3 separate regions of the Homo sapiens genome follow, and all the other regions are linked to region 1. The links are contacts of gene promoters, found by promoter capture Hi-C in human tissues and cell types (Jung and others, 2019). All regions are on one chromosome and are shown on one strand. Each heading gives the region's core, a stretch centred on a gene start or on the middle of the fragment in contact. The rest is flanking DNA. Distances are from core to core; before and after follow the strand shown.

Region 1 (4,807 bases), core at 1,036-3,535:
TCAGAGAGTGAGGCCATCAGTCTATCCAGCTCCAGAGTGGCTGAGGTGGCAGAAGCCTTTGGGAGGCCAGGAGACGGGCTGGAAGGGCTGTGAAGAACATGCTTGTGTCATCTCAGAGCCTCCCAGAGCAACGCTCCCTCTAGTGACTCAGATATCCAGGACTCATCTCTCAGCCCTGACAACGACGCCAAACTCACAGGCTGGGTCTTTTCTTATCTTCAGACTGGTCCTCCTTCTGCTCTCCTGAAGCCACCTTGCTAGATGGGAACTGAGACATGATTTCATCTGGAGAGAGGAGAGGAGGACGCTACATATAGGGCCATGCTCAACGCACCCTCACACTTGAGGCTTTAGGTCCCTTTAACTGCTACTCTGGGAAGTGTATTCCTCTTAGTCTCTGCCCCACCCTTCCCTCCCCTGCCCCTATCGCATCAAGGCCTCTCTCAGTCACCCTGGTACCTGTGATGTTGAACTGAGTGGCATTAAGTTCCTGAAGCAACCGATCTAGCTCACAGAGCCCGGTACCCAAGACACCGCTGGAAGAGGAGAATGGAGGGGCCGCCGGGGCTGCAGGCTTTGGGGACCGAGGCTTGCATACCGTGCTGGGAAGCAGAGTGGGAGCCTGGGTTCAGGGGTGGGGAATCCAAGCCTCCTCACCTGAGACTCAGTTGGCCCCCATGCCCTGGTTTCCAGGCCCCTCACCTGTACAGGTGGTCCTTGTCCCCCGAGGCTCCTGAAGACTCCCCAGACCCTGTCTACAGAGCGGAGACGCACAGGTGGGATGACAGGCCTGCACTCTGCCCCACTGAGGCTGAGATCCCCATAGACCAGGCCGAGCCTGGCCCTAGTGGCTGCCCCAGTCCCCAACATCCGATCTCACCTGTGGCTGGTGGCCATAGGATGGGGGAGGGGTGAGAGGCTCCGCAGGGCGCTCTTTGGGAGCCCCTGACCTTGGCATGTGCGAGGTGGTAGTCTCCAGGTCAGAGAGCAGGGCATCTGCAGGAAGAGGCCATCAGGGAGAGAGACAAGGGTCACGGTTAGATCAGAAGATAAGGTTCCCAGTGGGCAGTACTGGAGAAGGACAGAAGCCAGTATTAAGAGAAGAGGTCACAGGGCCAGAGCCAGGCAGAGCACTGCTCGAAGGGTAGCAAGGAATATTTATGACCAGAATATCCCAGTTGCTCACGCTTGGAGCCAAGCACAAACCCAGCCTCCTGATTATTTTATTCTCCCCATCTTCTCTGATGCAGTCAAAATGGGCTCTTCACCCAAGCCAAATTTGGCTCCCCTCCAAATTGCTCCATTGGCCCAGTGCCTGGCCCTCAGCTTTCTGATTGGACGCTCTCTCTTCCATGCTGGTTAACTCCTCCCTCTACCTACACAGGCCCCGCCCAGCCTGGCCACTCCCAGGCCCCTGAGTCCCGCCCTGGGCTCCTCACTGGCGCTTCGCTGGGACCTGCCTTCTGATTGGCTGTTTATCTGCGGTACAGCGTCAGTTACCCCTACCGAGCAGCGCCCTCTACCGCCAGGGGCCGGAAGCCCCTCTCTCCCGTGGAGCGCACAGCCTTCCAGCCCCAGGCTTCGCAGGGAGGACGAGATACCTGGGTCCCCCTTCCGGACAAGACACCTCTCTCCATCCCTGCATCCCCAGATCCGGGTCTTTTGAGCCCTTTCACTTCCAGAACCCAGAAGTCCTGCCCTCAGTCTTCGTCTCTGAGCACCCGCGTGAAACCCTGAAGCCTTCGCGGGCGCCTAGGCACTCCTGAGTTACTATTCTCTTCCTTGCCTCAAGGACCTGACCCTCACTGTGCTCAGGAGCCCTTAACTCCTCCTCTCCCAAAACTCTGGTGCAGGCAGGCCCGCTTTTTTTCTCCAAAACTTGATGCCAGACTTTCCCGTGCCCTCTACTTTCCCGGTCCCCGGGCCGAGGCCCCTTTAACCCCTCCCTCCCCAGAGCCCCGCGCCCGGGCGCCCGCGGGCGCCGCACCTCCCGTTCCATCTGCCGCAGCCTGGGATGGAGGAGCACAGCGAGGGAAGAAGGGAGGGAGCGGCCGGCCCAGGAAAGGCAGGAAGGGAGAGGCAGGAAGGGGGACGTGGAGTTGGAAAGGAGGCGCGGGCAGAGGCGAAAAGCAGAAGTAAGAAGACAGGGATGGGGAGATGCGGGAGAGCGACGGCGGGGAGGCAGCTCTGGGCAGCGGTGAGGGGCCACGGACCCGGGGATCCGGCCCCACTCACCCAGGTCCTCCATGGCGGGGCGCGGGCCGGTGGCGCGGGGCGAACAGGGCGGGGGCCGTGTCCGGTGGGGGCGGGGGGCGGGGGACGTCCGGGAGCTGGAAGCCCGGCCGTGACCATGTAAGGAAGCCGGGACCCGCTGAGATGGGGATGGGGGGGCGATGAACGGGGGAACCCGAGGTGGGGGCGTGGAAAGGAGGGAGCGCCCCGGCCCACCCGAGCCCAGCCCGCCGGCCTGCCGCGGAGGCGGCCACACCCCAGCCTTGGCCTCAGCTGCAGGGAGCCCCAGGAGGCCAGAGCCAGAGAGAAGTGGCTTCTCCAGACCAAGCCCCAGAGCCGCTCCCTAGGGAGACTTACAGACACGGACTGAGGCCCCCAAACAGACACCGCTCAAAGCTAGCGCCTGAGTCCTAGACAAGAGCCTCCCTCCCACCCATGCCATTCCTGGGAGACTTGTCCCAGACGGAATTTTTGGATTGGTAGCAGGAGTGATATTCTAAGGCTCAATTAGACCTCAGGTTCGGAGACCCTCCCATCGGAGACCCTGACAGATAAATAGAGGCCCCAAGAGGCATACATACCAGACACAAAGAAATCTGAGGGACGGGGACAGACACAGTGAACCCACCCACAGACTCTACACTAGGACCTTCCCTCCAAGACTTGGTCATGGACACACGTAAACTCGAACCCGGGCGCAAGCCCCTTGCAAATTCGGGGAAAACACTCCCAGGCAACCAACCCCCAGCCAGCCTGCAAGACAAAGCCCTTCCTCAGCACTGAGGTGGCCCAGGCCTGCTCTGAAACAGCCCTTTCCCAAGTTACTGATGAACTCAGAGCAGAAAGCAAGACACAGTCTCCAGCCACAAAGTGGCAAGGCCTTCCCTGGACTGAGACCCTGAGAAACGAGGTGGAAACGAGAGGCCATAGAGGTAGTTATGGACAGACAACTGTGCTGCAGCCACTCTTCTGGACAGATCTGAGCACTGGAATGTGAGTATCAACCCAGCAGCAAATCGGAACAACCTGGGGAGCTTTTTAAAAATGCGAGACAGGCATGGTGGCTCACACCTATAATCCTAGCACTTTGGGAGGTCAAGGCGGGCAGGTCACTTGAGGTCAGGAGTTCGAGACCAGCCTGGCCAACATGACAAAACCCCATCTCTACTAAAAACACAAAATTAGCTGTGCGTGGTGGTGGGAGCCTGTAATTCCAGCTACTTGGGAGGCTGAGACAGGAGAATTGCTTGAAACCTGGAGGCAGAGGCTGCAGTGAGCTGAGATTGTGCCACTGAACTCCTGAGCAACAGAGGAGACCCTGTGTCAAGAATAAAAAAGAAAAAGAAGAAAAAATGGGCAAACGACCTGAATAGACAGTTCAAAGAAGTTATATAAATAGCCAATGATTACATGAAAAGATCCTCAACATCATTAGTCCCCAGAGAAATGCAAATCAAAACTACAATGAGATGCCACATCATACCTATTAGGATGGCAATAACAAAAAAGACAGGTAATTAGGCAAGGAGCAGTGGCTCACACCTGTAATCCTAACACTTTGGAAGGCCGAGGTGGGTGGATCCCCTGAGGTCAGGAGTTCGAGACCAGCCTGGCTAACATGGTGAAAACAGTCTCTACTAAAAACACACAAAAAAATTAGCCAGACATGGTGGTGGGCACCTGTAGTCCCAGCTACTTGGGAGGCTGAGGCGGAAGAATCCCTTGAACCTGGCAGGTGGAGGCTGCAGTGAGCTGAGATCGTGCCACTGCACTCCAGCCTGAGCAACAGAGCGAGACTCCATCTCAAATAATAATGATAATATTTTAAAGGCCAGGCTCAGTGGTTCACGCCTGTAATCCCAACACTCTGGGAGGCCGAGGCGGGCGGATCACCTGAGGTCTGGAGTTGGAGACCAGCCTGGTTAACTTGGCAAAACCCCGTCTCTACTAAAAATACAAAAATTAGCTGGGTGTGGTGGCAGGCACCTGTAATCCCAGCTACTCGGGAGGCTGAGGCAGGAGAATCACTTGAACTCGGGAGGCAGAGGTTGCAGTGAGCAGAGATTGTGCCACTGCACTCCAGCCTGGTGACAGAGTGAGATTCCGACTCAAAAAAAAAAAAAAAAAAAGCTGAAAAGAAAGAGGTAATTAGCAAGTTTTTGTGAGGATATGGAGAGATTGGAACCCTCACACATGGCTGGTTGGAATGTAAAATCGTTCACTAACTTTGGAAAATGGTCTGGCAGTTCCTCACATGTTTAAACATAGAGTTATATGATCCAGCAATTTCCCTTCTAGATATGTAACCAAGAGAAATAAAAGCATATTCCACAAAAAAACTTGTACATGAGTATTCATAGCAGCATTATTCATAATAGCCCGAGTGGAAACAACCCAAATGTCCGTCAACTGATGATTGAAGAAATGAAAGTGGCATATCCATGTCTTAGTCTGTTTTGTGCTGCATCGTAGAATGCCTAAGGCTGGATAATTTATAAAGAATAGAAATATCTTTCTTTCAGTTCTAGAGGTTGGGAAGTCGAAGGTCAAGGGCCCTGCATCTGGTGAGGGCCTT
Region 2 (4,807 bases), core at 1,039-3,538, 200 kb after region 1:
TGAGGTTGTTTGGGGACAGCTATGTCCTTCACAAAAGACCAACTGTTCCTCAGAAGGAAGCCAGCTCCACATGACTCTCTCCAGACCCTGGTGAGCTCTCCCTCTCCTCAACCCATAAACCCAGGGGTGGCAACAGACCTGCTTGCCCAGGGCTTGGAAAGTCCCTGATGGCTCCCTTAGGCCTGTCACAGCTTTATAATTACTCCCTTTATAAATAAACCCCCCTCTTTGTAAATAAATCTTACTGAAACCGCCTTTGCAAAATTATGACTGAGACAGTGAAAGAGATCTAACTTAACTGATTCCATCTTGCTTCTAACCTCCAAGCTGTCCGTGTTCATTCCTGGGTGTAGGCTGAGCTAACTTTGGGAGACACTTAGTTTATAGTTTATAGTTTATAGTTTAAACAAAGATCGTAACAGCCCTTTCCCAAAGCAGACCTCCTTCTTACCTGGGGACTAGATTGCCTTTGTAGGACTAACGTTAGCCACAAGATGAGAAATTATGATTTAGGAGTCATGCAGCTGGAGGCTACAAGATTCTGACCCTCCCTAAACTGCTCCTAAAATCAGTGCTTGAGATATTTTGCAGACCTTGCACTTGATGGATCAGCTGGCACTGCCCAGATCAATAAACTGGTTCATCCGATCTTGCTGCCCCCACCCAGGAACCAACTGAACGCAAGAAGACAGCTCCGACTCCCGATGATTTCATCCCTGATCAATCAGCACTCCCAGCTCACTGGCTTCCCCCGCGACCTACCAAGTTATCCTCAAAAACTCTGCCCCCAAATGCTCGAGGAGACTGATTCGAGTGATAATAAAACTCTGGTCCCCTGCATAGCTGGCTCTGTGTGAATTATTCTTTCTCTATCGCAATTCTGCTGTCTTGATGAATCGGCTCTGTCTAGGCAGCAAGCAAGGTGAACCCCTTGGGCAGTTACATTACTGGAATGTGCTTTTGGTCCCAGTTGAGACTCCTACTGATATATGGGACAAGGGCCTCAAAAGGATTCTGGCAGAATCCAGGAATGCCGTTTGATGGAAACAGCACTACAGGGACAAACGTATGTGACGGCGATGGAGACACAGCGGTGGCATCAAGCAAAGAGCAGCGGGCAAGGGCCTTTCTACTCCAATAAGGAGCTCGACTTTATCTGTAGGCAATGGGGAGCCACAGAAGGTTCTTAGAAAAGGAAGTGAGATGATTTGTTTTGTATTTTAGAAAGACTGGCAGGGCACAGTGGCTCATGCCTGTAACCCCAGCACTTTGGGAGGCCTCCTGAATAGCTAAGACCACAGGCACACGCCACCATGCCTGGCTAATTGCATTTTTTGTAGAGATGGGGTCTCATTATGTTGTCTAGGCTGGTCCCAAACTCCTGGCCTCAAACAATCCTCCTGCCTTGACCTCCCAAAGTGCTGGAATTACAGGTGTGAGCTACCGCACCCTTTCGAATTTTGAACCAAGTGTATGTATTATATATTTTTTAATAAATGAAAACTTTTTTAAAGAAGTAGTCTTGAACCCTGAGAGTGAGGTCTAAAGAGGGAGAGGTAGAAGTGTTAGCTGAAGCCACAGAACTGGGTGATTTCAGGAAAGAAGAACACGTGGGTGAAAAGAGAACCCAGAACCCAGTGCCCCTAGGTGGAGAGGGAAGCTGGAGGCCAGCCGGGGGTGAAGAGAATGCACTCAGGAAGCTTGGGTGGTGAGGGTGAGGAGAGATGGCAGGAGATGAGGAGGAGACTGGAAGAGAGAAGATTGTTTTCATGGCTATCGATTGTGGTGGTTGATTGCTTTTCAGATACAGATAGAATGAAGAGTGTTTACAGCCAGAGGAAGGGGGAAGTTAATTGTCCTAGAGAGAAAACAAGTGATTCAAGAGATGCTGGGCCAGGCGCAGTGGCTCACACCTGTGATCCCAGCACTGTGGGAGGCTGAGGTGGGAAGATCTCTTGAGCCCAGGAATTCGAGACCAGCCTGGGCAACAAGGTGAAACCCCATCTCTACAAAAAATACAAAAATCAGTATATGCGCACCTGTGATCCCAGCTACTCTGGAGGCGGAGGCACAAGAATTTCTTGAGCACAGGAGGCAGAGGCTGCAGTGAGCCGAGATTGTGCCACTGCACTCCAGCTTAGGTGACAGAGCAAGACCCTGTCTCCAAAAAAAAAAGAAAAAAGAAAGATAGGTGATCACCTTAGTTGGTGCATGAGAGACTCTCAAAAGCCCATATGGAAGAATTTAGTCATGGGACAGAGGAGAGACAGGTCTTCCTCTAAAACGAGTGAGTCACTGCCAGGAGTGCTGTCATTATGGAAATTTGAGAAAAAGGAGAAAGTGCGGTGTTACAGCTCCTTTAGAATTTGTCAACAAATTCCAGTGAAGACTGGAAAACCGCTTATTAAGATAAAATAAGAGAAGGGGAAAGTGGAGGGAGTCCATGCCTGAAGCTTTTGTTTTCTCTGTGGAGGAAGGAGGATTAACTGTGGAGGGTGAAATATAGAGGAACAGGGCTTGAGAAAGAAAAAAAATGCAAGGGAGAAACATTCGCCTGTGGTCCCAGAATCAACATGAAGACAAGCAAAAAGATGGCATAGCCATCGAACAAAGCAGTGGGAAAAAGCAGCTTGAAAGATCCACGCACTCTGGCCAGGCATGGTGGCTCATGCCCCCCACTCATTCCCTGGCTCATTCCCAGCACTTTGGGAAGCCAAGGTGGGCAGATCACCAGAGCTCAGGAGTTCGAGACCAGCCTGGCCAACATGGTGAAACCCCGTCTCTGCTAAAAATACAAAAATTAGCCGGGTGTGGTGGCGGGCACCTGTAATCCCAGCTACTTGGGAAGATGGGGCAGGAGAATCGCTTGAACCTGGGAGGCAGAGGTTGCAGTAAGCCAAGATCGTGCCACTGCACTCCAGCCTGGGTGACAGAGCGAGACTCTGCCTCAAAAAAAAAAAAAAAAAAAAAAATCCATACAGTCACTCAGAATCTCAATCAACAGAGGTTTGGGGAACAGGGGTGTGGAAGGCCGCCCCCCAGGATGGTCCCCAAGATTCCCACCTCTTGCCAATGACACCTTGCACCATCCCCTCCTCTGCAGTGTGACCTGGACTTATTTTTTAAAGACAGGGTCTTGCTCTGTCACCCAGGTTGGAGTACAGTGGTGCAATCATAACTTGCTGCAGCTTCAACTTCCCAGGCTCAAGTGATCCTCCTGAGTAGCTGGGACTGCAGGTGTGTGCCACCACGCCTGGCTAATTTTTTTTTTTTTTTGTAGAGACGGGGATCTCCCTATGTTGCCCAGGCTTGCCTTGAACTTGTGGCCTCAAGCAATCTTCCCACCTTGGCCTCCAAATAGCTAAGACTACAGGTGCTCATCACCACACTCAGCTAATTTTTTTTTTTTTTTTTTTTAGAGACAGGATCTCACTACATTGCCCAGGCTGATCTCAAGCTCCTGGGCTCCCAAAGCTTTGGGATTGCAGGTATGAGCCACTGTGCCTAGCCAAGGCGTTTTCCTAAAGTACAAGACCCTAGCACCTCCCTAGCTTCTGACTCTAATGGGACCCAGTTCCCCCACTCTTCTGCACCCAGAGCCCAGACCTTGAGCAGACGTCACCTCAGTCCTGCCCCCTCCCCTGGTCTTTTGCTGCGCATCTGTTCCCTCTGCCAAAGGCAACCCACCTCGGAGGGCCTCTGGGAACTTCTGGGGCTGCTGCCGTAGGTTGGATCCAAACAGGAAGCAGAGCCCTTTCACATACGTGTTCTCACTGCAAGTCTGGTGCACGGTGGGACCACAGGCCTAGGGGACAGGAGCCAGTGGAAGGGGCTGCCCCTGCTTCCTGTCCTTGTACCCCAGCACCTCCACCCTCCACAAGACCCCCAGCCCCACCATGCGTGGGCCCCCAAACACCCCCATTAGGATGCTCCTCTGATCGAGCCCCACTCACCAGCAGCTGAGGGGGGCTGGTGGTGGCTGCCAGGGACAGGCCCAGGGACATGTTCACGGCCTCCACGGGGACTGCGGGGACAGATATGGGCATGGTCACCCTGGTGGGGGGACAGAGAAGGCTGTGGAAGAGCTGGGCAGGGGTCACCTCCATGCGGGAGACAAGGAGGTCTGACGGTGAAGGGGGATCCTAAATCTTGGGAAAGAAAGGAACACAGAGGGGTTGCCTGGGGATGTCTAGGGTAGAGACTGCAGGCAGAGGAGAGGGTACGGAGGCAGGCACCTGTGTCCCCACCACAGATCCCCAGGACACAGGAGTGCCTGGAAAGTCCCTATGTGTTCACAGGGGAATCCCAGTCCCAGCCCGGCGGGGCAGTGACTCACCCTGCAGGCGGATGGGCTCGCATGAGCCTGTGCTGTAGTCGCACTGGTAGAGGCTGCCCCTTTGGTTGGCAGCCACTATCTCCTGGGGGGCTCCAACCACCACCCTGTGGGGAGAAGTGGGAACAGAGAAAACTTCGACATGTGGGGAGAGAAGGAGACCACAGAGGAAGTTCTGCCACCCAGAGGACGGTGGGGGCCCATACCCGGATTCCTAAATTCCTATGACTAGGAGGAAGAATTAGCAAAGAAAAAAATGGGAAAATGTTAAGACTCAGAATGAGAAAAGGTCTTCCTAAGAATGACACAAAAACCAGAAGTCATTTAAAAATAGGACCAGGCGCGGTGGCTCATGCTTGTAATCCTAGCACTTTGGGAGGCCAAGGGGGTGGATTGCCTGAGCTCAGGAGTTCAAGATCAGCCTGGGCAACATGGTGAAACCCCGCCTCTACTAAAAATACAAAAAATTAGCCA
Region 3 (4,807 bases), core at 1,326-3,825, 140 kb after region 1:
AACAAAGCCTGTGTGTTTTCCCTGGGAAAGGGAAATCCACACCATCTGGGCACACATCTCTCGAGAATCACTCCAGAAAGGGAGGGAAGCACCTTTCTAGCAGCTTTCTCATGCATCTGCAGGGGGGACAGGTCACAGCCTATTTCTCTATCAGGTCATCCTGCCACCAGGTGGGAAGGAATGAAGGGAGAGGACCCACCCCACAGTGCTCTCAGAGATGGAGGGTAAATCCCTAGAGACCAAGCCACATGGGCTCATCACGGAAGGTCCTACACATGGAGAAAACATAACTGCACCTGTGACCATCTTGGGGACCCTCTATTTTGAGTGCTGGCCTTATCATGAGTAGTGATAAGAGGAAAGGGATTAAAATGCTAGAAGCTGGGGTAGCTGCACCATCAAGAGGCCTTCAGAGGCCGGGAGTGGCAGCTCACACCTGACATCCCAGTGCTTTGAGAGGCCAAGAAGGAAGGATCACCTGAGGCCAGGAATTCAAGACCAGCTTGGGCAACATAGCAAGACCCCGTCTCTACAAAAAAAAATCATAAAACAATCAGCCAGGCATGGTGGCACATGCCTGTAGTTCCACCTACTCGGGAGGCTGATGTGGGAGATCACTTGAGCCCAGGAGCTCAAGGTTGCAGTGAGCTGTGATCACGCCACTGCACTCCAGCTTTGGCAGCAGAGCGAGACACTGTCTGAAAAAAGAAAAAGAAGAATAAGAAGAAGACGACTTCGGCCTTTACCACAATTGGGAGAACAGAATCTTTGGGAAGGTGGTGATATCAATTAACAAAACAGATAAACTGCTGTATCGGAGGCTCTGAGTGATAGTGTTTTCAACAAGACCAGTGTTCTCATCTCTCTCCTGTAATGGCATGAGAATATGGAGTCCAGGGCTGACATGGTGCCTCCGCAGAGGCGGGACCCAGCCTCCTCTGTTCCACTCTTGCATTCTTCGATGTCAAACTCATCTTCAGGGTCCAAAATTGTGCACCGTGATGCTGACACTCCAGCCAGCGGGAAGGTGGTGAAAAGAAACGACACTTCTTCCCTCAAAGGACCTGGCTCCGAAGTTGCTCGCTTCACTGCTGCTCACATCCCATCAGCCAGAACCTCGCCAGGCAGCCACACCAGCTGCACAGGAGGTGGGGAGACGAACCCTATAACTAAGGGGCTATACGCAATATCCATTGCAGCGTAACAAACCACCACGCAGGACTGAGACATCAGTAATTGATTATTTCTCACAGTTGCATGAGGTGACAATCCAGGCAGTTCTGTGGGACTCTCCAGTGGCTGCAGGTGTTGGACAGCTGGATGGAAGGATCACAGCAGCCTCATGCATGCACAGTGGCAGTGGCCTCCGCTGTCTCCTCCATGAGTCCACTCTTTCTCCAGTGGGCCATATGGATCACGGCGTGGTGACCTCAGTGTTCCGAGGGGTGCAGGGCAGGATCTGCTGTGCTCCTAAAGGTCTAGGCTCCAGAACTCACACGACCACACTCCTACTGTATTCTATTAATCAAAGCAAACCACGGGACCAGCCCAGATTCAAAGAGGTAGACAGGCCGCACCATGTGATGTCAGGGACAGCAATGTCACACTGCAAGGGTGTAGGGCCGGGAAGCACCATTCACTGGGAGTCAGAATTGTAACCATCTCCCATGGTGGCCCAAATTAAGATTCTACTCTAAGTAGGAAAAGGAGAGTGGATACTGAAGGGATTCATTTATTCTGAAGTGAGAAATCCCCAAAAATAAAAGCAAGCAGACGTTCCTGGACTTGGCCACTTATCACCAGATTTATGGTCCTGTTTATTAGTCACTTTGTGGTCATGCTAGGGAAATCTGTCGCTTGAAATGATTGACTTTTCTAACCCATCATAAAGCTCCTATCTGGCTGAATTCAACACAAGCTTCTCATTTGAAGACGCGGAGGTGAACTCTGAGTTCACAGGACTTTAACTGCCCTGCAAAGACTGGCGGCTACAGGCACGGAGGCTGCAAGGACAGGCAACTACAGGTATGGAGGCTGCCAGGACAAGCAACTAGGTACGAAGGCTACAAGGACCAGCATGGAGGCTGCAAGGACAGGCGACTACAGACATGGAGGGTGAAAGGACAGGCGACTAAAGGTACAGAACTCTCTCTGTTCCCGGAGCAATTCAGGACTTCTGCAGATATTGAGGACTTTTATCTTTCAACATAAGGAAACACAGAAATTCTTAACAGACTTTATTTAAGTCAGGAGAGGAAATAGCAAAGAACCGTCTAAAGGTGACCGTGTTTTGTGTCACCCCCACAGATACAAAGGGCCATTGTCTCATTAGCCACCTTTTGAGGGCATCTCACTTCACTTTGAGTGAAATTGGAACTACTCACTCTGGCTTACAAAGCACTCATGCCCAAGCCCTGCCCACTCTCCCAGCCTCCCCTGCCCTCCCTTCTGCCTGGAGATCTTCTGGCCCTGCTTCAGTCAGGTGTCACCTCCCTTGGGGACCCTTCCTTCACCTCCCTAAGGAGTAAGCCCTCTCTCCTCCTGCCACATGTGAAACAAGTGTCCCTCTAAGCCATGATTTTCTTGTATTTCAATGAAGATCATGAAATTACCATTTTTTGGCTGGGCACAGTGACTCACACCTGTAATCCCAGCATTTCGGGAGGCCAAGGCAGATGGATCACCTGAGGTCAGGAGTTCAAGACCAGCCTGGCCAACATGGTGGAACCCCATCTCTACCAAAAATACAAAAAAAAAAAATTAGCCAGACATTGTGGTGCACGCCTGTAATCCCAGCTACTCAGGAGGCTGAGGCAAGATAATCACTTGAACCCGGGAGGGAGAGGTTGTAGTGAGCTGAGATCACACTACTGTACTCCAGTCTGGGCGACAGAACAAGACTCCATGAAAAAAAAGAAAGAAAGAAAGAAAGAAAGAAAGAAAGAAAGAAAGAAAGAAAGAAAGAAAGAAAGAAAGAAAGAAAGAAAGAAAGAAGGAAGGAAGGAAGGAAGGAAGGAAGGAAGGAAGGAAGGAAGGAAGGAAAGAAAGAAAGAAAAAAGAAAGGAAGGAAGGAAGGAAGGAAGGAGGAAGGAAGGAAGGAAGGAAGGAGGAAGGAAGGAAGGAAGGAAGGAAGGAAGGAAAGGAAGGAAGGAAGGAAGGGAAAGAAAGAAAGAAGGAGAAAGAAAGAAAGAAGGAGAAAGAAAGAGAGAGAGAAAGAAAAGAGAGAAAGAGAAAGAAAGAAAGAAAAGAAAGAAACATTTTTGTCCAAAAACATGTCATCAATTTCATATGCTTTAACCCAATATCATAACAGTTAAATAACAGCCACCCTCTCCCCACACTCCCTCATGCCTGTTCTGGGGCCATTCCTCTGAGGCTGTCAGGACAGTAAAAGAGAAAAGCTTTAGACCTAGGCAGAGCTGGGATTAACTCCTAGCTCCATTCCTTCCCAGCTGTATGACCTCAGGCAACTGGTATGATCTATCTAAGCCTAGGTTTCCTCATAAGTGAAATTCATGTAAATACCAAGGACTGGTGTGAGGATTAGAGAGGATGTATGTTCAGGCCAGGCTAGTGTTTACTGTGTTTGCAAAGTATGAGGGACAGGCACTGGGCATCCTCCCTCTGAGGAAGCAGCCACCAAAATGTCACCTGCACACACCTTGGCAGCAAGTGCTCCTGGTGCCCTGACCTGAACCAAAGGCACCGTGTCAGGGGCTGTGTTCACCTGTCAAACATCCAGCCAGCAGCACTGGTATCACTTTCTCTGGCCACTAGAGCCCACTCTCCTCACACTCAGGGCAGGCCAGAAGTGGTAGGAAATTAACACACTCTCCCCACCAAGAGCAGCCCTCATCCAATAGCTAAGTGGAATCGGTGTCTATGCGCTCCAGCCTTCTCCCCTGGGTGGGGTGATACTGAGGTGCGTGTTCTGCACTGCCTCCGAGAACTGCCCAGTGGGGTGAAGCTCCAGGAACTCACAGCAGCTTCTCTGTGGGTGATACACCTGTTATTGGCAGCCTTCCCTTCCTCGGTATTTCCTGGAGCCATCTCTTTATTTTATTTTATTTTATTTATTTTTTTTTTTTTAAGATGGAGTCCTGCTCTGTCGCCCAGGCTGGAGTGCAGTGATGCAATCATATCTCACTGCAACCTCTACCTCCCAGGTTAAAGCAATTCTCCTTCCTCAGCCTCCCAAGTAGCTGAGATTACAGTTGCCTGCCACCATGCATGGCTAATTTTTTTGTATTTTTAGTAGAGACGGGGTTTCACCAAGTTCGACAGGCTGGTCTCAAACTCCTGAGATCAGGTGATCCACCAGCCTCGGCCTCCCAAAGTTCTGGGATTACAGAGGCGTGAGCCACTGTGCCCGACCTTTATTTTATTATTTTGTTTATTTTTGAGACAGGATCTCACTCTGTCACCCAGGCTGGAGTGCAGTGGTGCGATCATGGCTCACTGCAGTCTAGACCTTCTGGGCTCAAGTAATCCTCCTGCATCAGCCTCCGGAGTAGCTGTGACTACAGGCATGTAACACCAGGCCTGGCTAAATTTTTTTAATTTTTCGTGGACACAGGTTCTCACTATGTTGCCCAGGCTAGTCTCGAACTCCTGAGCTCAAGCAATCTTCACACCTTCACCTCCCAAAATGCTGGGATTTCAGGTGTGAGCCACCATGCCTGGCCTGCCACCTCTTAAATACGCTTGTTTCACCCAAATTCTTGGGTTTGCTTCTGGGAGAACCCAAACTTCCAGGAACATATCCTATAAATTATCCTTACATATATGCAAAAATGACATATATTTG

The links. The method cuts DNA at HindIII sites, captures the fragments that hold promoters and counts their contacts. A contact is called where the count stands out against the background at its distance.
Region 2: a contact is called between a fragment that was not itself captured here and the fragment with the promoter of TGFB1I1 in region 1, in 1 of the 25 tissues and cell types used here (spleen).
Region 3: a fragment that was not itself captured here is called in contact with the fragment with the promoter of TGFB1I1 in region 1 in 2 of the 25 tissues and cell types used here (bladder and spleen).

The regions. Positions count from the first base shown.
Region 1 is chr16:31,469,630-31,474,436 of GRCh38, reverse strand. It overlaps TGFB1I1 (transforming growth factor beta 1 induced transcript 1), which reads right to left and starts at 2,285. Exons shown (of 11, transcript NM_001042454.3): 1 at 2,236-2,285; 2 at 881-996; 3 at 703-755; 4 at 460-602; 5 at 198-285; 6 at 1-87. The coding sequence starts at 2,248. RefSeq lists an enhancer at 1,406-1,946. The HindIII fragment of the contact is 11,590 bases long and covers 1-4,807 here.
Region 2 is chr16:31,265,028-31,269,834 of GRCh38, reverse strand. ITGAM (integrin subunit alpha M) reads right to left here. Exons shown (of 30, transcript NM_000632.4): 3 at 4,337-4,440; 4 at 3,954-4,024; 5 at 3,688-3,805. Among named protein-coding and RNA genes, the nearest start is that of ITGAM, 7.5 kb to the right of the region's middle. RefSeq lists enhancers at 3,988-4,467, 3,582-4,781. The HindIII fragment of the contact is 5,038 bases long and covers 1-4,807 here.
Region 3 is chr16:31,332,857-31,337,663 of GRCh38, reverse strand. It overlaps ITGAM (integrin subunit alpha M), which reads right to left. Exons shown (of 30, transcript NM_000632.4): 30 at 4,787-4,807. Among named protein-coding and RNA genes, the nearest start is that of ITGAX, 20 kb to the left of the region's middle. The HindIII fragment of the contact is 5,342 bases long and covers 1-4,807 here.